Linked DNA regions of Homo sapiens: region 1 is linked to region 2. The links are contacts of gene promoters, found by promoter capture Hi-C in blood cells and fetal thymus (Javierre and others, 2016). All regions are on one chromosome and are shown on one strand. The core of a region is centred on a gene start or on the middle of the fragment in contact, and the rest is flanking DNA. Distances in the headings are between cores, read along the strand shown. Region 1 overlaps WNK3 (WNK lysine deficient protein kinase 3). Region 2 holds the start of MAGED2 (MAGE family member D2).

Evidence for each region. The method cuts DNA at HindIII sites, captures the fragments that hold promoters and counts their contacts. A CHiCAGO score of 5 or more calls a contact.
Region 1: a fragment that was not itself captured here is called in contact with the fragment with the promoter of MAGED2 in region 2 in 1 of 17 cell types (total B cells); the score reaches 5.6 in total B cells.

Annotation. Positions count from the first base shown.
Region 1 is chrX:54,236,418-54,240,934 of GRCh38, forward strand. It overlaps WNK3 (WNK lysine deficient protein kinase 3), which reads right to left. Exons shown (of 24, transcript NM_020922.5): 18 at 2,451-2,682; 19 at 1,925-2,055; 20 at 521-1,134. Among named protein-coding and RNA genes, the nearest start is that of FAM120C, 55 kb to the left of the region's middle. The HindIII fragment of the contact is 209 bases long and covers 2,571-2,779 here.
Region 2 is chrX:54,804,497-54,808,994 of GRCh38, forward strand. It overlaps MAGED2 (MAGE family member D2), which reads left to right and starts at 3,249. Exons shown (of 13, transcript NM_177433.3): 1 at 3,249-3,306. The HindIII fragment of the contact is 6,434 bases long and covers 1-4,498 here.

The sequences.
Region 1 (4,517 bases), core at 1,425-3,924, 570 kb before region 2:
CAGCTGGCCTGAATTTCTTTTTTTTAAATGACCTATTTTATAAAACTAAATACAAAACAGCATTCTATTGACAAAATATATTATCATAATATCACTAGTGAAGGTTGATTACCTCAGTCACCAAATAATAAGCTTGATCTTGAAAGTATCTTACCTTTTCCTAAAGAAGATGAACCACTATCTCTGATTATAATAAATCAGCTGTTTACTTATCAAATGTGAAATTATATAAGAATAGTTGTAAAATCTAAAACCAAAAGTCCTGAAGAATAAGGATTGTAAAGGTTAGCAAAAAGAGTAGTTAAATCATATTGGTAAATAAGCAACTGTAATAGTCTTGAGACTATGAAAACATTTTATATATAAGAACTTTTTCTCATTCATAAATGTTTAGCATTAGCATTCTTTGTAGTTTTCAATCATTAAAATGTCACCAATCCTAAATTAGTTACCAATCCAATACTAAGTTCTATAAAACCTAGGGCAACCAGATTTGTGACAAAAGAGAAACAGTCCTTACTTTTCTCGTAATCTTTGAAGCTCCACCTTCAAGTCCTCATCCTCTATTTCTGATTCATCATCACTGCTCATTGGGGAAGATGGCGAATAGAAGAGTGAACTCTGTGTTTGAGCATAAGCTTGTTCTTCGTGGTGTGGTAAGCACTGATTACTCTCTGGACCAGTCTTTGCCACTGACTTTCCACTGCCAGCAAGACTGGCTGAAAATTCACTATCAGAGCTAGGCTGTTTCCCAGCAGTCAATATCTCTCTCTCTTTAAGCAACAGTTCAGATCCAGACTGCATGCTACTTCCTGTGGCTGAAGTTTCTTCAAATTCCTTTTCTGGGGTCACTGAAGATACATCAGTCTCACAAGCTGCGCTGAAAGATAAGAAGTTGTCACCTTGTTTGGGAACTCCTTTATTTTCTTTACAGGTTTCCTGAAGAGCTTGTAACTTCTCATAAGAAAACGAAGTTTTTGGATTTTGTGTGGCAGGTTCTATTTCTACCAACTGAGACTTTGCTGTTTTAATAAAGGCTTCTTCACTAGAATGGTTTGTCTCACTGAACACTGATATGTGTTCTATTCCAAAAGATGTCATTTTTGCTGACTGCTGCTGAGGAATTGTAATCACCTGAGATATAAAAACGTAAAAGTGGTTAGCATAGCACAGACAAGTAGATGCTCTGCTGTGATGTATATGTATTGATACTAGCAAAACTTAAAAATTTAATCTATACCCCCAAATTCACTCTTTCAATCAGGCCCCTTGGGTAAAGAGAGTGGGCATCATATTGCTCAAATAAAATTCCACAATTAGAGTTGCTGAGATTCTAAAGGACGTGAAATTACATTTATAAAAGAGGACCCACCCACCCGCCAAAAGAAAACCTATTTCTGTGCTCTCTACCAGCTATGAAAATCTCCATTTCTTTAGATTCATCTTTACTGATGGCTTCAAAAGGTGAGGGGATGCATGCAAGATGAACAAATTAAATATGACAATGATCTACATTTAAAGTAAGTATCATCGGCCAGGCATGGTGGCTCATGCTTGTAATCCCAGCACTTTGGGAGGCCGAGGCAGGCGGATCACCTGAGGTCAGGAGTTCAAGACCAGCCTGGCTAACATGGTGAAACCCCGTTTCTACTAAAAATACAAAAAATTAGCCGGGTGTGGTGGCGCGCACTTGTAATCCCAGCTACTCGGGAGGCTGAGGCAGTAAAATCGCTTGAACCAAGGAGACGGAGGTTGCAGTGAGCTAAGATCACACCATTGCACTCCAACTGGGCAACAAGAGTGAAACTCCATCTCAAAAAAAAATAAAAACAAAAATGGAAGTATCATCTACAGACCAAGATCTCCACTGGCTGTTATATTTTATAATGCCCTTGTAGATAAGGATTCAATCAAAGACACAAACCTGGAACCGACCCCGCTGAAATGATCCACTCATCGCTTTACATCTATTCAAAGCCCTAGTATCAGCTGTGGACTCCCGTGTCAGAGGAATGGGATCAGGAGCAATTGCTGATCTCATCTCTTCTGTTTCCACTGCAAGTTTTGCCAAATTGTAAGTAAAAAAGAGAAAATTGTTTGTTAAGACTAAATTTGTTTACATTACCAAAAATGAAGAAAAGTAGAAAAAGCTTAACTCCTGCTAGACAATTAAAAGGTGTTAATGTAATAAGCAACATTGTATTAAGTCCCTAAGTCTAAATCAGACATTGCAAGATTTATCCCAAGACTTAGTATCTATATGAAATGAATAACCGGAAAACCAAATTAGTTACAAAAGGAAAAAATAAAATGGCAATGACATTAATGGGACATGTCACATACATGGGCTATGTGGAAAAAGTGGCAAGATTTGTATATGAACAACAAAAAAAATAAGTAAATGAAAAGTGATGTTACCTAGTCTATGTCCCTGACTGTAAGCACACTACCTTGACGGACTTTTGATCTCTTGAAAAAGCTGGTTGACTGCCGTAGCCTGTATGCCCAGCTTTTTAATTTGCGAGTCCAGGATTTCTTGCTAATAGGATTTTTGAGACTAGGACAAGTAAAGCTTAGGCCAAAATATCCACCTCCTGTCTGCAGATGAATGGCTCCACCGCTTGACACAGCAGCAGGATAGGCCTCTGGATCCCCTGGAAGTGAAGCATCTGAGGACATCTCCTAATGGAGACAAAACAAAACAAAACAAAACAAAACAAAACAAAACAAAACAAAACAACCGAGAAAAACCAAAGTGGTAATAATTTAGGTAAGGTGAAGCTTTTAAAAAAAAAAAAAAACGGAATTTCTTGTATAGACTAATCTTTAACCCAAAATAGAGTATTACGTATATAGTTGCATTAATAGTAGCATATCAGACTGAACCCAAAGTACTCAATTTATAAAAAGCCTTGTTTCTTTAAAAATATTATTTAGACTTTAGTAAATAAAAGAGAAGATTATTAATCTTCTACCCCAGAATATTTTTCATCATTATACAAACTTTGAAAACTGAAAATCAAATTAAAATTTCCTTCATATGTGCCAGTTTACTAAAAAGGTTACTAAAACTCCATGCTATTATCATGGAAATTTTCATTTATGCCTATATTATTTAAGAGACTCAGTTAAAGATGCTTGAAACACATAAAAACAGAAAAAAACAAGATATCTAGGCACTTAGATTTACAGAGAAGTATCAGGAAATCAAGTTTCTTACTTTATGAAAGCATAGGGAAATTTATAAAGGACATCAAAATTACTTCAAAATCATGCTCTAAAAATTCTTGTTAACGTCAGGCTATGCTGGCTATAAAATCAATCCCCTCTTCTTGTCCTTCTACTCCCCGCAAAAGGGCCCCAGATATAACTGTTGTATCTAAATGAGTGCTTTAAAGATAAATCCCCTATAATAATTAATATGAAAAGTTAGCACAGACAACCACAAATATTTTGGGAAACATGAGAAGGGTCACTACTAATCTAGAAGATTAAAAAAATATATAAAAGCACAAAGAATGGGATTTAGCATTTGCCTGAAAGAAGATAGCCTACATGGCAGTAAGTATGATGTCTTGGGTAAGCATTATTACTACTTAGGGCAGGGCTGGGCGCAGTGGCTCACGCCTGTAATGCCAGCATTTTGGGAGGCTGAGGTGGGCAGATAACCTGAGGTCAGGAGTTTGAGACCAGACTGGCCAACATGGTGAAACCCCGTCTCTACTAAAAATACAAAATCAGCCTGTCGTGGTGGTGCCTGCCTGTAATCCCAGCTACTTGGGAGGCTGAGGCAGGAGAATAGCTAGAACCCGGAGGCGGAGGTTGCAATGAGCCGAGATCGCACCATTGCACTCCAGCCTGGGCAACAAGAACGAAACTCTTGTTTCAAAAAAAAAAAAACAAAAAAACAAACACAAACTTATGGCAGGTCAGGACATATTAAAAATAAAATTGTAAGCAATCAGTTTTTACTTTCTGAAGTCTCATTTTAAACTAGTAATAATTAGTTTCATGAGAAGAAAAAAATCAGTATTACAATTTAGAAAATGTTACATTGGTCCCACTGAAATTACAGAAAAGAATTTTAATATGTAGTAACTGGATCAAGATGGCAAATTAAATATTTGTTCTAGCCTTCCTTATCAATCCAAATTTACAGACACAACAGGAAAATATACATAGACACATGCATATATGACTGACAGAGGAAAAAGTAGACCATGACATATGTAGGAATTGTTTCAAAATGCTGCAAACCTGAGTGGCTGATACGGGCAGCAGGAGAGAACCCTGGCCAACTAAAAAGATGAGTGGTAGGCTAGAATGCTTACAAAACTCTATCAGATCTATCTTCTGTCTCTTTCAATGTTATCTCTTAATGCTCTCCTGTTTACTGGCCGCCTTTTGGTTCCTTGAACAGATCTCTGCCTATGACTGTCACCATCACATACAAGTCTTTCCCTGACTACCATATATAGGTTTAGTATCCATTTTCTTCTACTAGATGTAAACTCCAC
Region 2 (4,498 bases), core at 1,999-4,498:
CTGGATTTTGGGAGAGCCTTGAAATCAAGCTCAGGCGTTTCTTGGGAAAGCATTCCATACCCATTGTCATGTATACCTCACCTGCTATTCATATCTCAACTCACTGCAATCAGGAAACTGTTGCATGGAATAGACTCTGAAATAACAATAGCTTAAATAAGACATACATCTATTTGCCTCACCTAAAAGAAATCCAGAGGTAGGCAGTTCACGTTGGCTTCATGAAATTGTTACGGATCCAGGTTCTTTTTAGTTTACTAATCCAGTATCCTTAGAGTGTGACCCTAGTCCTCATGGCCTTTATTCTGGGAGGCTATGTATCTAGCTAAAAATCAGGTGACTTATTACTAAGGAAGAAGAGGAGGATGAATACTAGGGTAAGCAATTAGCAAGCTATGCCACAAACATGTGCACTGAAACTATTCCTTCCAAGGTCACCAGAGACCACCACTTGATCGTCAAAATCCCCAGACATTTTTTCAGGTCTTACTTTTCTTGATTCTTGGCACCATTCATCACTATTGACCTTGACTCCTCCCTCCTTTTGAAACAATCTCTTCCCTTACTTTTGTGACACTCCTTTCTCCGGTTTTTTTTTTTGTGTTTGTTTGTTTGTTTTTTTTGATGGTGTCTCACTCTATCACCCAGGCTGGAGTGCAGCGGCACAATCTCGGCTCACTGTAACCTCTATCTCCCAGGTTCAAGCGATTCTCCTGCCTCAGCTTCCCGAGTAGCTGAGACTACAGGTGTGGTCCACCACACCCAGCTAAATTTTTGTATTTTTAGTAGAGATGGGGTTTCACCGTGTTGACCAGGCTGGTCCTGAACTCCTGACCTCAGGTGATCTGCCCACCTCAGCCTCCCAAAGTGCTGGGATTACAGGTGTGAGCCACCATGCCCGGCCCTCTCCTGTTTTTCTCTCTGCCTCTTTGGTCACTCCTTATCAGCCTCTTTCATGAGTTTCTTTTCCTCCACCTATACCAAAGATGCTGTTGGACTGCAGGGCTCTTCCGTGGGCCCATGTCTCTTCTAGCACTACGCATTCACCGGGGTGCTGTTACCCTTTCTCAGGAATTCAAGAACTATTTATGTACTGATGACTCCTAGATCTATAACCTCAGCCTAGACCACTTCTCTGAGCTTCAGATATGTATATTCAACTGCCTGTGGTACATTTCCACCTGGACATGCCACAGGTGCCTCAAAAGCAATGTTCAGTTCTTGTCTAACCTGCTCCTCAAACCCGCTCTTCCTTCAGTATTCCTGATCTCAGTGAAAGGGGTTACCATTCACACAATCTCTCAAATCAGATCGCCAAGAGTTCCCTTTGACACTCCCCTCCTCCTTGCCCTTCTCTTCACAATCCAGTTACTCAAGTCCAGTTACTTTTTACTTCTTTACTATCTCCTCGATTCAATCACTTCTCACTATCTGCCACCACTCTAGGCCAAAGCACAATCATTGCTTACCTAGATGACTACAAAAGTCATAAGCACTCTCCCTGTTTCCAAGACAACACCTAATCCACACTCCATATAGCAGCTAGGTGTTCTTTCTAAAACACAAACCTATGCTGTATCCTTGCCTAGAATTCTTTAGTAACTCCTGGGTGCTCTCAGGATCAACACCAAAGTCCTCATCTTGGCATTCTAAACTTGCCAACTTGCCATGATTTGGAAGGGGTGGGGAATTTGAGATGCCAGAAGTAGAAGAAAAGGAGGGGCTATGTCTAGTGTGGATAAGGGAGAAAATCTAGGAGGCAAGAACATGGTGAACTGATATCACACACTTGGAGAAAGCAATAATTCAGAGAAAGAGAAAAGACAGGAAAACAGAAGCCTGCCTTGAATATGCAAGAAATTTGTGTGTTTGTCTATCTTGAATTATCCATGGAACACAGGGATTCATTATATGTTATTTACATAGTAAAAGGTGACCACATAAAGCAGAAGACTTGTGTCCATTTGAATTACATTTATATGTGGAAAGGCACTGAATATTATTTCTGCAACTAACAGTTGTGCTGAATTTTATTATGGTTTCTAATAACTTTTTAGTTGATGCTCTTGGGTTTTCCAGGTCTGCATTTATATATTCAGTAATTAATGATGATTTGTCTATTTCCTATTATTTTACATCTTATTTTGTTCTCTTGAACAGATCCAATTGGTTATGTGAATTTATTATGTGATAGAGGTGCCATTTCAAAGCAGAGAGGGAAAAGATGGATTAGTTTGCACATGATGTAGAGGTAAGAGACTATGATTTTGAAGAGTAATCAAGCTGAATCCGTATAGAAAATAAATTTTGAAATGATCAAACATCTAAATGTAAATAATAAAGCCACAAAAGTGCTTGAAAAAAAAAACGGGGTTTGTTATAGGAGTGTGAAAAGCATCTTTAAGCAAGCAGCAGAATCCAGTTGTGATGAAGGAAAAATGGATATATTTGACTACATAATAATTAAACATTTTTGTTTGGCAAAAATTATCATAAATAACATGAAAAATATTTGTAATATGTGACATGTACAGGAGAGACATTGCTGGCGGGAATGTTATCCATTTACTTTTTAGGAGTAAGTTGACAAATTTTGCATCAAAATGGAAGACTTTTTTGTAGCATTTGAGCTAGCAAAAAATACCATAAATAACAAAAAGTGCACCAAGCAATCTAAATGTACATGTGTACTGGACTGGTTCAATAAATTATGGGACATCTATGCAAGAAAAGATCATGCAGCTGTTTAGAAAAATGTGCACTAACGGAAAGATGTTTTATATATAACTGGAAAAAAACAGGTCGCAGAACAGAAGGTATGTATAGTGTACCATTTGTCGGAGAGAGAACCTGAATAATTAGTATACGAATAGAAAAAAAATCTGGATAGCAAAATGTTAATAGTGGTTATTTCTGGGAGATGAGTGGCCTTTCATTGGTGTGTTATATATTACTGCATTGTTTGAATTTTTACAACAACAACAAAAGAACAACATATTACCTTTGTAATAAGAAAAAATGAAGATATAAAAATAAATTCAATGAATGACTTGCTTTCAGGGGGCGGTTTGAGTTGGAAGAGCTTCAGACTGAGCCTGGTACAGTGGCATAAACATGGGCTTTGGCGTCAGACAGCCCTGAGCGGGGCCCCATTGCCCCACCCCCGAGGAAGGCGAGGGGGGGTGGCAGGGGGCTGCGGAAAGGGGCTGGGCTGGGTTGGGCTGTCTGCAGCTCTAGTCCAGGAGGCTGAGACTTCGAGAGGGACTTAGAGAAGGCAGACGCATCCCGAACTCGCTGGAGGACAAGGTGAGGGGCGTTGATATTGGGGTTTTATGGAGGTCAGACAGTGGTTCCAGACCCCTCGAACCCATAGCCAGGCAGATGAGCAATTCTTACTGCACCACTGCAGCTGAAGCAGAGGTGACCTGGAGTGGGGTGTAGGCAATGAGGACGACTGAGAAAGTAGTAGGCTGTACAGACTGGGAGCAGAGACTAGCGGAGGGAGGAGGGGAGAAAAACGGGGAACCAGGAATGTTGGGAGGGGGACGAGGAATACAAGGAGGGAGGGGAACACTGAGGGGGAGTGAAGATCCAGAGAAGAGAATCGGGGATGCAGAGAGGGATTAAGGAATACTGAGGGGCAGGGTGTGCAAACGTAACACGGAGGAGGATGTAAGAAATGGGAAGAAGGAATTCTGGAGTAAATAGGAAATGTGAGGTAGGAATAGGGAGTAGGGAGCCAGGCTAAGGGAATACGGAGGGGGGCATAAGGAATGAGGAGCAGGGAGCGGGGGAGGGGCAGACAGGCTGGGACGGAGGCCCCCTAGGGAGGCGGAAAGGGGCGGGACCACTTCCGGCCTAGAGAGGGGAGGGCAGTCTCCGAGTTTCGGAGGGGCTTGGAGTGAGTGGACGCACTCGGGAATTGTAGGAGGACGAGGTGAGCAGCCGGGTCGGCTTTTGGATGAGAGCCCCGCTAGGGGTCGGCCCCACCCTCTGGGATCTGGAGAAAACCTGCCTTAAGGACCGGATCGTACCGGATCCATCCGGCTGGGAAGGGAGGGGACTGGACCCGGTTTGGCCGGGCCCAAGATGGAATCACTAGCTCAGTATTTATTTGAGGAGGGGGTGTAATAGGGAAGGGGCGGAACCAAGATGCGCCTGTTTGGAGGGGGGCGTGTTAGGAAGAAGGGCGGGGCCAAGAGACACTGGACTCTGTAGGGCGTGAGTAGGGGAGGGGCCGGGTCCACCAGACACTGCGACAATTTTGGAGGAAGGCTTGTTGGGCAGGGGGCGGGACCGAATGGTACTGCGGACCTGGAGAGGGGCGTGTGTTGGGGCAGAGTGCCAGACTGAGACCACGACCATTGCGCATGCGCACTATGTTTCGCTAGAAAGGGGCGTGTTGAGAAGGGCCAGCACTGAGAAGAGCCAGCTGCTGAATGCGCATGTGCACGGTGGACATCAAAGAAAGGGCTCGTGCTGGGAAAGCGGGCGGGGC